2 separate regions of the Homo sapiens genome follow, and region 2 is linked to region 1. The links are contacts of gene promoters, found by promoter capture Hi-C in human tissues and cell types (Jung and others, 2019). All regions are on one chromosome and are shown on one strand. Each heading gives the region's core, a stretch centred on a gene start or on the middle of the fragment in contact. The rest is flanking DNA. Distances are from core to core; before and after follow the strand shown.

Evidence for each region. The method cuts DNA at HindIII sites, captures the fragments that hold promoters and counts their contacts. A contact is called where the count stands out against the background at its distance.
Region 2: a contact is called between a fragment that was not itself captured here and the fragment with the promoter of EEPD1 in region 1, in 2 of the 25 tissues and cell types used here (neural progenitor cells and stomach).

Annotation. Positions count from the first base shown.
Region 1 is chr7:36,149,876-36,156,459 of GRCh38, forward strand. EEPD1 (endonuclease/exonuclease/phosphatase family domain containing 1) reads left to right here and starts at 3,379. Exons shown (of 8, transcript NM_030636.3): 1 at 3,379-3,799; 2 at 4,258-5,327. The coding sequence starts at 4,450. RefSeq lists a silencer at 2,791-3,510. The HindIII fragment of the contact is 14,356 bases long and covers 1-6,584 here.
Region 2 is chr7:36,061,516-36,068,099 of GRCh38, forward strand. LOC124901617 (a long non-coding RNA gene) reads left to right here and starts at 4,598. Exons shown (of 2, transcript XR_007060289.1): 1 at 4,598-4,688; 2 at 4,901-5,171. RefSeq lists an enhancer at 3,714-4,913. The HindIII fragment of the contact is 4,735 bases long and covers 1,484-6,218 here.

The DNA.
Region 1 (6,584 bases), core at 2,129-4,628:
ATGTGGTATTTGGCTGGAATGATATAATTTCTGCCCTTTGACATCGTCATGTAACTGGGTTGTCAGCTAGAGCCCTAAATAATAAAATGCAAATAAAACCCTCATTCCTTGTAAAATGGGACCCGAGCCAACTTCCCAATCTCAATGAGGATTCTTGAAAGTCAGGTATTTCCCTGGGTCTCCTCGTATTCTGATTTTCTGCTTCCACTGAATCCTGGCTCTTTCTCCCACCCATCTTTCATATTTTAGCTGCCCTTTTTCTCTCTGTCTTTAATTTACCCAGAAAGATTCAGCTCCCTTACTTTATCTCTCCTAAACATAACTTATTGATGGCCATTACATACATATCTTACAAAATTTAGTGTCTGTGCATGGGGTAGGGGTGGGAGGATTGCATCATGAAATAGCACAGCAGATAAAATAGACTGTTAGCCGTAAGTTTAAAGGCCTCTGTCGCCCACTTTCCTGAGCCCCCAAGCCAAGCTGGGGAATGTTCTCTTCTATTAGCTGTCTGTTCAACTTCTTGGACCCCTTCATCCCCCTCCTAAACCTTTTCATCTCCACCCAGGCTCACGTACCCCACTCTCCCCAAAAACAAGGCCTATGTTTTTTTAGATTCAGAGAAAATTTTTTTTCATTTTTTGAAGATTTTTCCAAAGCTGTTGTCACTGAAGTACACCCAAATGCACATATTTAAAGTATACGATTCTGTCAGTTTTGACATTCATATGCCCATGAAACTATCACCTCTCAAACTACATTGCCATCAGCCCCCAAAGTTTCTTTGTGCCCTTTAAAATCCATTCCTCCCTCCCCATCATCCCCAGGTAACCACTGATCTGCTTTCTCTATATGTATGTCAGTTTGTATTTTCTGGTGTTTTATATAAATAGAATCATACAGTATGTTCTTTTTTGCCTTGCTTCTTTCACTCAGTATAACGATTTTGAGACTTTTCAATGTCATGTAATAGTTTGTCTTTATTGCTCAGTAGCATTCCATTGTATGGATATACTACAATTTATTCATTCATCCACTGATGGATTTGAGTTTCTTGTTGTTTTGCTTTGTGTGTGTGTGTGTGTGTGTGTGTGTGTGTGGGTGTGTGTGTGTGTGTGTGTTTGGCTATAACAAACAAAGCTCCTATGAACATCCACATTCAAGTCTCTGGGTTTCATGTTTTCCTTTTTCTTTGGTAAATACCTATAAGTAGATTGGTTGAGTCATATGGTAAGTATACGTTTAACTTCTTAGGAAACTTCCAAACTGATTTCCAAAGTAGTGGTGCCATCTTACACCTCCACCAGCAATGTATGACCATTTCAATTGCTCTGCGTCCTCACCAACATTGGATACAATCAGTCGTTTTAAAGTTAACCATCTCATTGCATGTTTTTGTGGGGTGTATGTATGTGTGTTTTTAAATGCACTTTGGTTTGGCCAACGCTTGGTTTCATTTATACCAAGGGGAGCATTTGCTAGGTTTATGGGGAATAAAACCAGATTATTTCTGTTGTTCTAGGATATTATTAATAGAGTCCTCTCTTCACCTCCAGAGTGTCCTGGTTTGTATGATAAAATATGTTTTCTCTGCTTCCAGCCCAAGTAGCCACGCTCCACGGCTGTGCTTCCACAGCCACGTTGCGCATCAAGGCATTCTGCTCAACGAAGAGTTTTCTCTGTTTTCCTGCTTGTCTTAAACTGTTTTTTCCTTACCGCACCAGGATTTCAGTGCGTGGCATAATGTAGCCCAGTGTTTGGGTGGGAGATGATGGTAGGTAGCAAGGCATTTTTGCGATCAAGTGCAAATAGCTTGCCTAAAAATAAAGCCAATAAAGAGAACCGTGGAGCCAGAGATGGAGGCAGTCCTGCCATGTCCTAATGACCCCATCATCACTTGGGTCGGATGCAACCAGACTTGAGGTAAGATTCCTTACCTTAACTTTTCAACAAGGAACCAAAAATTTCCCCCCGACCTTTTTTTTTTTTTTTTTGGTCTAAGCTAGTTTGACTTGGTTTTCTGACCAATATACATAGCAGGGGAATGTGCCTCAGAAAGGCAGTAGCATTTTCCAAACTTGGGCTGCCGCTAATTTTACAACCAAAGTACCTTCCGCCTGTGAGAGGTACTATTTTTGCTGACCCAGTCCTTGGAATTGAAACCAGATGCACTGGTCACATTGGTTGGGGATGAAACTTCAGAGAACACTAAACGTCCAGGGTCAAAGTATTCAACGATATCACCGCATGATTTGCTTAATCGAATACTCTAGCTCTAGGTATCCACTATAATGCAGAGGGCTCTTTAATCTTTAACCAAATTGTCATTTAGCAGTGTGATGCAAAAACTCTTCTGGGTTTTGGGAAGCAGCCCCCATTTCCCTCCTTCGTAATGATTAGACTTAATATTACAAAAACTTATCCTTGTTTACTCACAGCGCTAAATGTGCAAAGGAGCAAACCTGTATTTGACCTATGCGAACACACAGGAGGGTGGTGCGTGCCCTCTGCTAGGAGCACAATGCGTCGCTGGCGTTATTAGAGGACATCTCTCTGAGCGGAGCAAAGGTAATACACTGGTGGAAGAAAAGAAAAGGCCGAAAGTGGGGACAGAAATTAAGACGATCCCATTCAGTCTCCTCTGGAACGTTCTGCAAAATTCCGTGAGACCCTGGACCTACAGCGATGCACTCTCAGGGACTGCCCCGGCCTTCATCCCCACACCTCAAAGACAGACGAAAAGCAGCTGAGCAGATCTCGCCTCGGGCAATCCTAAACAGCCTCTACCAGGCACAACCAGTCCTAGGCCCCGGGCGGCAACCATGGTCCGGGGGCAGCTGACTTAGGACAGCCTCCCTGTGACCCGCCCTCGCCGGCACGGCGCCGGCTCCGCCCCTTAAGCCCCCTAAGTCCCGCCTCTGCGCTCCCGGGGCCTACCCCCGCGCTCATGGCCCCGCCCCCGCTTTTCCTACCCCATCGCGCCCTGGCCCCGCTCCCACACTCTATGACCCCGCCTCTCGCACTCCAGGCCCGCCCCACGCGCTCCAGGGTTCTGCTCTCCACCCATTTGTGCCAGGCCACGCCCCCACACCCATGGCTCCTCCTCTCGCACGCCAGGGCCTCCCCTCGCGCTCTCTGGTTCGTTCTCCACCCTCTTGAGCCTTGATGCCGCCCCCTCTTCCATGGCCCCGCCTCTCCCACTCCAGGCCCGCCCTTGCGCTCTCGGGTTCCTCTCTCCACCCACTGGTGCCAGGCCTCGCCCCGCGCCAGGGCCCCTCCCCCACGTGCCCTCGGGAGTCCCGGGGAGGAGTTGCCGCGCGGAGGAGGCGTGGCCGCGGTGCCTGCGGAGGCGCGAGCGGCGCGGCGCGGCGCGGCCGGGACTTTGGCTTTGACACCGACTGCGAGCGGGAGCCGTGCGGCTGGTGCTGGGTCTGGACTGGCTCTGGCGGATCCCCGCCCGAGTTGGGCGCAGGACTTTTTGCCGGGGTAAACGCAACTGCGGCGGCGCCGCCGCAAGCCCCGGTGCAGCCTCGGCGGCGGGTTTCGCCGCCGCTGCCGCCGCCTCCGAGCAGCCCTGCGGCTTCTATTCACTCTGGGAGAGCGATGCTAAGTTTCTCCCATAGAAAGAGCCGGGACACGCAGACCGAAGCGGCGTAGTCGGCTTCCAGGGCCTGACCAGTGACCCACACCCGCGCGGACGCCTAGGCTGGAGGCAGGGGGCCCGTGCTGTCCCGGGCTGGGCTCAGGCTTCCGAGCCGCAGGTGGAAGAGGAACCGGCGCCCCGCAGAGCGGCCGAGAGGTGGGGCGCGGGGACCCGCGGCAGGTCGGGTGGGGGGTCGATAAGCCCCTTCTCAGTGCCCGCTCCGGGGAGCACGGACTTCCCAGGTTGCAGGTAGCGCTGTGTCAGATGCGGAGCGTGGGGGAGGTGGAGTGGCCACCCCGTCTGCGCGAGCCCAAGTGTGGGTGACCCAAGTGTCAGAGTTGAGAGAGGCCTGGAGGAGAGGCATGAGGCTGATGGGGATAGGTCTCTTCCCAAGAGAAGCGGCTCGTAGCCTTTTTGGACTCCAGTGTGATAAAACCCGGACGTCCCTAGAGGAGAATCCACATGGGCCTAGCCTCATTGTGCCTGCGTTTTTAGGGGTTCACGGGCAGCCACCAGTCCCCGACTCCTGGTTACTAACTCTAGCACTAGGTAGGGGGTGCTAATGCAAATTTCTTAATTCAATGGGTTTCTATGTTTATTGATTTATTTTCTAGGCGGCCAAGTGAAAGGTAATTTTGGACACGCCAGGCATGGAAGATTCGGTGTTTGTCTATAGTAACCTCTTCAGTCCCTGAATCCTGCACCTTCCGTTTTTCTGTGCTTGTACGGCCTACTGGGCTTCCTCCCTAGCCAGAGAGCTCTTCTGCAGTGGTGCGGCCTTCCCGGGAGCCTGATCCTGGCGGACCATGGGGAGCACCCTGGGCTGCCACCGCTCCATCCCCAGGGACCCCTCGGACCTGTCCCATAGCCGCAAGTTCAGCGCAGCCTGTAACTTCAGCAACATTCTAGTGAATCAGGAGCGGCTCAACATCAACACTGCCACGGAGGAGGAGCTGATGACCCTGCCTGGGGTGACGCGTGCCGTGGCACGCAGCATCGTGGAGTACCGAGAGTATATCGGTGGCTTCAAGAAGGTGGAGGACCTGGCATTGGTCAGTGGTGTAGGCGCCACCAAGCTGGAGCAGGTCAAGTTTGAGATCTGTGTGAGCAGCAAGGGCAGCTCAGCGCAGCACTCTCCCAGTTCCCTGCGGCGGGACCTGCTAGCGGAGCAGCAGCCTCACCACCTGGCCACAGCTGTGCCCCTCACCCCACGTGTTAACATCAACACAGCCACCCCGGCCCAGCTCATGAGCGTGCGAGGCCTCTCGGAGAAAATGGCCCTCAGCATCGTGGACTTCCGCCGTGAGCATGGGCCCTTTCGCAGCGTTGAGGACCTAGTGAGGATGGATGGTATCAATGCCGCCTTCCTGGACAGGATCCGGCACCAGGTGTTTGCTGAGAGGTCCAGGCCCCCATCCACCCACACGAACGGGGGACTGACCTTCACCGCCAAGCCTCACCCGAGCCCCACTTCCCTGAGCCTGCAGAGTGAGGACCTGGACCTGCCGCCAGGGGGGCCCACCCAGATTATCTCCACTCGGCCGTCCGTGGAGGCCTTTGGAGGCACAAGGGATGGGAGGCCTGTGCTGAGGCTGGCCACCTGGAACTTGCAGGGCTGTTCCGTGGAGAAGGCCAACAACCCCGGGGTGCGAGAGGTGGTGTGCATGACACTCCTGGAAAACAGGTGAGGACAGGAACCACCATGGGTGTTGGGTGTGAAGGCAACTTGTGCGTGACCTCATCTATGGATGCAAATGAATGGATTCTTTTGCGGGTAGGGAGGGTGCAAGAGTTTTTAATCAATGTTCTTGAAGCCTCAGCCAATACCGTCACCTGAGAATGGGCTGTCCTTCTGCTCCAGAATTTTCTGAATACAGCTGGGCTTGTGACCCATGTCTTGAGTGTGAGATATCTGAGACTGATTCATAATTTTGGGGTAAGCAGAGGTTGTGTTTTTGTTACTGCTTTGGAGGATGCTGGGTCTACACCAAGTCAGGCACTCAGAGCATGGGAACTGGTGCAGTTTCGCATGTGAGAAAGAGCTCATTGGATTTTGTTTATTAATGGGAGGGAAAATCATATTTGTTCCATCAAATATGCCTATTTGTGCACACAAAATCATCTTAAAGGCCAAGTATTTGCAAACACATACAAGTGTCTATATTTACCAAAATGCTATGAATGAATCACTCTCCATTCTTTTTCCTTATTTAACCTGGAGTTGGTTTTCAGCCCTAAAATTGTAGCCCAAAATGTGTGTAACCTTTTCTGTGCCATAGCCAGAAAAAAGCAAGCTGACGTGTGTGTGTGAAAATTGGCCGGATTTTCCCCATTTAAACCAAAGAAAAGAGTCCAGTAGGATAGGCCGTTACCACAGAGCGTTTATGTTATTCACAATACTGCTCTCTGTAGGAATTTCTGTTAGCCTCGTCATAAACAAAAACAATATTATTTTGGCAGTAACTCCTGCTGTTAGTAAAATAGCAAACTGTATAATGTAATCAGGTGTGGGAAAGAAAGAAATATTTGTGATGGTCCCTTCCAGGTCATAAGAGCTGTGATCCTGGACTTGAGGCGTTTTGCCCTGCCACCCACCAGGGGTGCAGTGTTTGTGGCTACTCGTTGATTTCCTTTGCACTGAGTTGTTGGTGAGGCTGGCGGCGGGGGGGCAGCAGTTTGGTGACACGAAGTGAACTCTCAGCGGGAAATCACAGTGCATGATGGCAGATCACCAGGAAAATTAGTGAGGAGAAAAGCAGGTCACAACGTTTCCTTGGCACTGACCCAGTGGCATGCTCTCATCACTGAGAGAGGGACTCCACACTGGGTCAGGGAACTGGACTGGGGAGCCCTTGAATGCTCTCCCTGCACTGCTGTGTCCTCTCTTTTGCAGCCTAACTCACTCCTTCTGCAAAGTCTTCTTGTGCACAGGTGAGAGCTG
Region 2 (6,584 bases), core at 2,601-5,100, 88 kb before region 1:
ATGTGGAGGACACAGTTGTTGGAGTGGTTCCCACAGCTGCATCCAGAGCCCTAAAACCAAGAGGCTCACTCAGCCTGCTCTGTGGATGCTGCACCCATCTGCATCTAATGCCTCCTCCTGCTACCTTATGTCCCAGCAGGGTAGAGGAGTAACAATGGCACTTTCAAGGAATCTGGCCTCAAATCTTAGCTGCCTTCCTTTGTGGAAGATACTATTTGGAAAAGTTCATTCCAAAACATCTCTCAACGGCCAGATTAGTGTGCCTAGGCTGAAATATCGTCGCTTTCCTGATGTCAGAAGAGAGGTTTCATCCTTTGGGATTCAGATGAAATTGGCTTAAAGTTAGACCCTGTGCGGTAGAAGCCCCCCATATTCCTTCCCACAGGTCCCAGAAACCCAGAAAGAGGGTGTTTTGCCCTAGAGAGTTGAATCCATCTGGAGGGCAAATTGGGGGTAGAAAAGGGTTCTTGGTAGCTGGGTCACAGGTCTTCTTCTCCCTCTCTCATCACACTGATTGTCCCGTTTGCTCTAATTCTGAGCCTGTGATTAGAGGTTGGTGAAGTGGTGATAAGAACCTCACAGCTGTGTCACAGCTGCCTTTTGGGACTGAATTTTCCAGGCCAGCTGCCTTACAAGACGATGGGGTGGCAATCCGCTTGTACTTGCTTCTTAGAATCCCACTCATCTAGAATGAGTCTTTCCATAAGGCTGGCCCACATCTGCTGGGGACAGGCAGGGAAAGCGGATTCAGAATGAAGAAAACACTCCAGTCAATTCCTTCCAGCAAGCTGGCTCCTGCTGCGGCTCTCTCTTTCAGGGAAGACATTCAGTTTTTGTCATTTGAAAAATTATGGCTAATTCCTGTGAGTTCAAGTAGCTCTTGTTGTGTTTGGAAGCAAAAGAGTCCTAGTTACAACACAGCCCCAAACCCCAGCCTGCTGAGTTGAAATGAGATGAGTCTTAGGATAAAATGAAACAACACCAAGGGCTGTGCAGGGATGAGGCAGCCCTTTCTTCTCCATTTGGGCCCACTGTTTTCTCTCTCTCATAGGACTACAGAACACACAGCTGTAAACACAATTTTTTCTACTTGTGACCATTTCCGTGTTGCCCTCAAGGTGGCCAGAGTGCAGGGGCATCATCTTTCTGAAGGGTGAGGCTTTGCTGTGGGTCCACAGGGCTTTGTTCTGTCTAAACCTCATTGCTGTTTTACCTTTTAGGATGTCATTGGCTCAAAGAAAAATCTAAACAGGGAACAGTGGCAAGAAAGTCAGTAAATAGATTACCATGTTTGTCTCCTTTCAGCCGTAGATTCCATGGCAACTTGAAAATACGACCTTTGATTTGCTGGATGGCCAAGCCAAGTACTCTAGCTAAACAAGAAGAGGGGTCCTGGGCAAAAAGCTTCCCAGAGACCCCCAACCTCATCTGAGTTGTCTTTAACCCTCTCTACCCTCCTTAATCAGCAGGGCACTGAGTTATGAAGAACAACTCAACTTTGTCAAACTTTGTCTAAATTTGTGGATACGTGAGATTTCAAAGCTGTCTTATGCTTCTAGTAAGCTTCCCCAGGTAACCCGCTAGAGACCCTGCGGGCACAAACCCACTTTTCTCTGCCAATGGAATCATGTCAATAGAAAAATTTAAAAGCACCCTTTTATGGGCCAGGGATCAGCTAATGATGGTATACTGGCCAAATCTTGCCCACAGGTATGTTTTGTGAGTAAAGTTGTATTGGAACATAAATATGCTCATCATTGGCATGCGTTGTTTTCACACCACAACAGCACAGTTAAGTTGTTACAACAGAGACAGCTGGCTGAGGAAATCTAAAAGATACTATGTGGACCTTTACAGAAAAAGTGTATATAACTCTGCCCTAGGCTAAATAATTGGAGAATTAAAATAAACAACAACAACAACAAAAAGAATTGGAGAATTAAGGAGTCATGAGCCATGGCTCATTAGCTAATCAATAACTCAAAAAATAGCAAGATAAGAGGGATAACTCCAACCCACACATGCACGGAACCTCGTGTGTCAACATTTGCCACATCTCTCCCCCTCGCTCTTCCTCCAGGATTTCCCACGCAGCAGGTGGGAAAGCGACCCCTGTGGATGGAGCAGGAAGCAGGGCTCCAGGAAGGACACCTGCAATTAACACCTATTTAAAAAGCGAAACAACACTGATTAATTCCAGGAAAAAAAAATCTAAGTACAAGAAATGACTCTATTGTTCTACTAGACCCAGTTGTGAAGAATATTTGCAATCATATAGAACACACATGTTGAATCTTGATCTAAGCTTTAAAATTGTGCTGTAACTTTATCAGGAGATTGAGGAAGAGTAAAAGTGAGTGAAGAAAGTATAAGAGAATTAAATCCTTATTTTGTAGAGTAGAAAGTCAGTAGAAGCTACACTAAAGTGAAAACATGGAGCATGTTTTCTGAACAGGAGCTAAACCCCAGAATGAAAAGAGTTGAACTTGTTTTCGTCTTGTGTGGGGAGAGGCAATAGCAGGGACAGGTCAGGGACGGAATGCTGAATAGCATTTGAATTTCAAGTATGATATGGATAGCTTTAAAAACAATGGTTGAAAACAACAGTAGGAAGGGATAGAAAATCAAGTCTACTACCCCAGCATGATGGGCTAATGGTGTCCTTCCAAATTCATATGACCTCAGCATGCGACTATTTGGAGGCAGTCTTTAAAGATGAAATAAGTTAAAATGAGGTCATTAGGGTGGGCCCTAGTCCATTAAGACAGCTGTTCTTGTTATGGTAAAGGGGTCCTGATCTAGACCCTAACAGAAGGTTCTTGGATCTTGCGTAAGAAAGAATTCTAAGTCCATTAAGTGAAAGCAAGTTTATGAAGAAAGTAAGGGAACAAAAGAATGACTACTCCATAGGCAGAGCAGCCCCGAGGGCCACTGGTCGACCATATTTATAGTTATTTCTTGATTATATACTAAAAGGATGGATTATTCATGAGATCTTTGGGAAAAGGGGTGGGTAATTCCCAGAACTGAGGGTTCCTCCCTTTTTAGACCATTTAGGGTAACTTCCTGACGTTGCCATGTCATCTGTAAACTGTGCTGGCACTGATGGAGTGTCTTTTTAGCATACTAATGCATCATAATTAGCGTACAATGAGCAGCGAGGATGGCAAGGGGTCACTTTCATTGCCATCTTGGTTTCAGTGGGTTTTGGCCAGCTTCTTTACCATGACCTGTTTTATCAGCAAGGTCTTCATGGCCTATATCTTGTGCTGACCTGCTGTCTCACCCTGAGACTTAGAATGCCTAATCTCCTGGGAACGTAGCCCAGTAGATCTCAGCCTTATTTTACCCAGCCCCCACGCAAGATGAAATTATTCTGGTTCAAACACTTCTGACATCCTGCCAAGAAGCAGACACATGCAGGGGGTGACCATGCAAGCTCACAGGGAAAAAACATCCATCTGCAACCCAGGATCCAAATTTCAAAAGAAAAAATTCTGCCCACACATTGATCTTTTAATCTCCATAACTAGCAGACAATTTGTAAAGCGCCCCCCTGAAGCACTTTGTTAACGCAGCTGAAACAGACTAAGGCCCCCAGATTCCCTGAGGTGGAAGTGGACTGGTCTGAGGTGGGTATGACTGGCCCTGATGGGGGGGAGGAACTTCTCAGGTCCATGCCTTTGGGGCAGCTGCTGAGCTAAGCTTGTGTCCAGAATTGGTTCCTTCCCGTGGGTTCTTGGTCTGGCTGACTTCAAGAATGAAGCCGTGAACACTTGCGGTCAGTGTTAAGGTTCTTAAAGATGGTGTGTCTGAGTTTGTTTCCTTACATGTTCAGATGTGTTTGGAGATTCTTCCTTCTGGTGGATGTGTGGTCTCACTGACTTCAGAAGTGAAGCTGCAGATCTTCGCCGTGAGTACTACAGCTCTCACAGATGGAGCATCCACAGTTGTTCTTCCTGGTGGGTTAGTGGTCTTGCTGGCTTCAGGGGAGAAGCCAGAGACCTTCTTGGTGAGTGTTACAGCTCATGAAGGCGGCACTTCCAGAGTTATTCCTTTCTCCTGGTGGGTTCATGGTCTCACTGGCTTCAAGAGTGAAGCTGCAGACTTTCCCGGTGAGTGTTACAGCTCATAAAAGTCCAGAGTTGTTCGTTCCTTCTGGTGGGTTCATGGTCTCACTGGCTTCAGGAGTGAAGCTGCGACCTTCCTGGAGAGTGTTACAGCTTCTAAAAGCAGTGCAGACCCAAAGAGTGACCAGCAACAAGATTTATTGCAAAGAGCAAAACAACAACACACTCACAAAGTCCAAACAGCTGTCCCAGGGCGTTCAGGTGGCCTGCTTTTATTCCCTTATTTGGCCCCACCCACATCCTGCTGATTGGTCCATTTTACAGAGAGCTGATTGGCCCATTTTACAGAGAGCTGATTGGCCCATTTTACAGAGTGCTGATTGGTCCGTTTTTACAGAGTGCTGATTGGTGCGTTTACAAACCTTTAGCTAGACACAGAGCACTGATTGGTGCATTTACAATCCTTTAGCTAGACAGAAAAGTTCTCCAAGTCCCCACCCCACCCAGAAACCCAGGCGACTTCACCTGTCAAGCTGAGCTGAGCTCTTGATTTTTCTCCCACTGGAAGGTCAACATTGTTCGGGATTCCTCATCTTGCCGTGGCTCTGAGTTGGCTAAGTATGACTGCAAAGCATGGCACTTTCACTTGGCAACTCCCTCCCCTCACTCACTATAGCAAACCATTCTTTAGTCCCTGTGCAGAAACTTTGTTTGTTTGTTTGTTTGGGGCTTTACTTTTTGGAAGCCACGGAGGCACACTGTACAAAGGTTTTTGTGGGAAGCAAATTGCCTTTCCTTTTATTTATTTATTTATTTTTCCTTTTTGGCAGATGCCAAGGTCATCTTTCTGTTTGTACTACAGATACGCTGTAATTGATTTTCTGAGCGAACCTCTGCATGTTCCTACGACATTTTGTGATCTTCCAAGTGAACAACCTGACAGTGCCAACATTTATACTGAAGTAAAAGAACTCCTGAAAATTCTCATATAAATGTCAGCAATATTGTGGAAGTTTGACCACTTTCATGAGTCCATACATTGGAAATCAAAGTAATAAGGAAATATCTTAACTCTATTAAAATCATTTTTTCTCCTTTGTATTTTTTTTTCAGTCTGCTAACAAACACAGCCTGACTAGTTATTCTAGCTCAATTTTGTCGTGTGTGTGTGTGTTTGGGTGCAGACATGTATTTGTGTGCTTCTAAACTTAATTCTTGTTACATTGGTTTTCCACCGGGCGTGGTGGCTCACGCCTGTAATCCCAACACTTTGGGAGCTTGAGGTGGGCAGATAACCTGAGGTCAGCAGTTCAAGACCAGCCTAGGCAAGAAGGCGAAATCCCATTTCTACTAAAAATACAAAAGTTAGTTGGGCGTGGTGGCATGCGACTATAATCCCAACAACTCAGGAGAATCACTTGAACCCGGGAGGCGGAGGTTGCAGTGAGCCGAGATCGCACCACTGCACTCCAGCTTGGGTCACAGAGCAAGACTCTGTCTCAAAAATAAAAACAACCCCTCCCATCAAAACATTGTTTTTCGAAAACAGTAGAGACGGAGTTATACTTCCAAATAGCTTGCACTCATTTTAAGCACTGGAAGTACTGTCCTGGGAATCTTGTCAGGACTGAAAATTCACCAGAAGAGAGAAAACAGATTTGATGTGTCCTCTTTCCAACCCAAGCTGCTTCCCATGCTGTGAGCATTATCAGAGAAGGAGACAGAGGAGGTAAGGAGGCCATATTAATGGCTTGGCTTTGCTTTGGGGCATCTATTGAAACTTGCTGCTATGGCCAGTTTTTGTTGCTCCTGTTGATTCTTTGCTTTTGTGTTTTGTTATTCTGGATTTGGGGGCTTTATTTTCTAATAAAGTAGTGTATCTGTATGTTTTCATGAATGGCCCTACTAGAGTCACTGTCTCTTGAGTTATCATGGTGTGGGACGCTTTCCCTCGCTGCAGATAGACTCATGCACACCTAGCATTACACAGGGCTCTGTCCTCAGAACAGCCAAGTGCCTGGAAGGCAATAGCTTTCTTGATTCTCTTTGCAAGTGCTATCTTGTGTTCCTTCATTTTTTTTTTTTTTGATAACTCTCCTAAGCCATTATAATAACTGGGACCCAGCGATTGTGTAAGGAAGACTGCCTTTATTTGCAGAAAACAGAGAATCCCAACAAGTGATATGACTGTCTCATTCACTGGTGTGAGATCTGTAATGACTATGAAGTAGCTAACAGCTAGAACTCACCATTATACGGCAAAGACCAGGCATACCATCTCTGGCAATGTTCTGTAAAAAATAATAATACATGTATCAGATCCTCATTTGCATAATAGTAACAAAATTCAGTTCCTTAAAAATCTAGAGTGTGTTTTCTACATACTTGCTTCCTTCATTTTCACAATGAATTATTTTGCACTGCTCATTTCACAGTTCCACGAAGTTCCTGCCAGTAGCTCATTTAAAGGACAAACTTGCTTTATATATCTCAAGGAATTCAGATGATGAAATC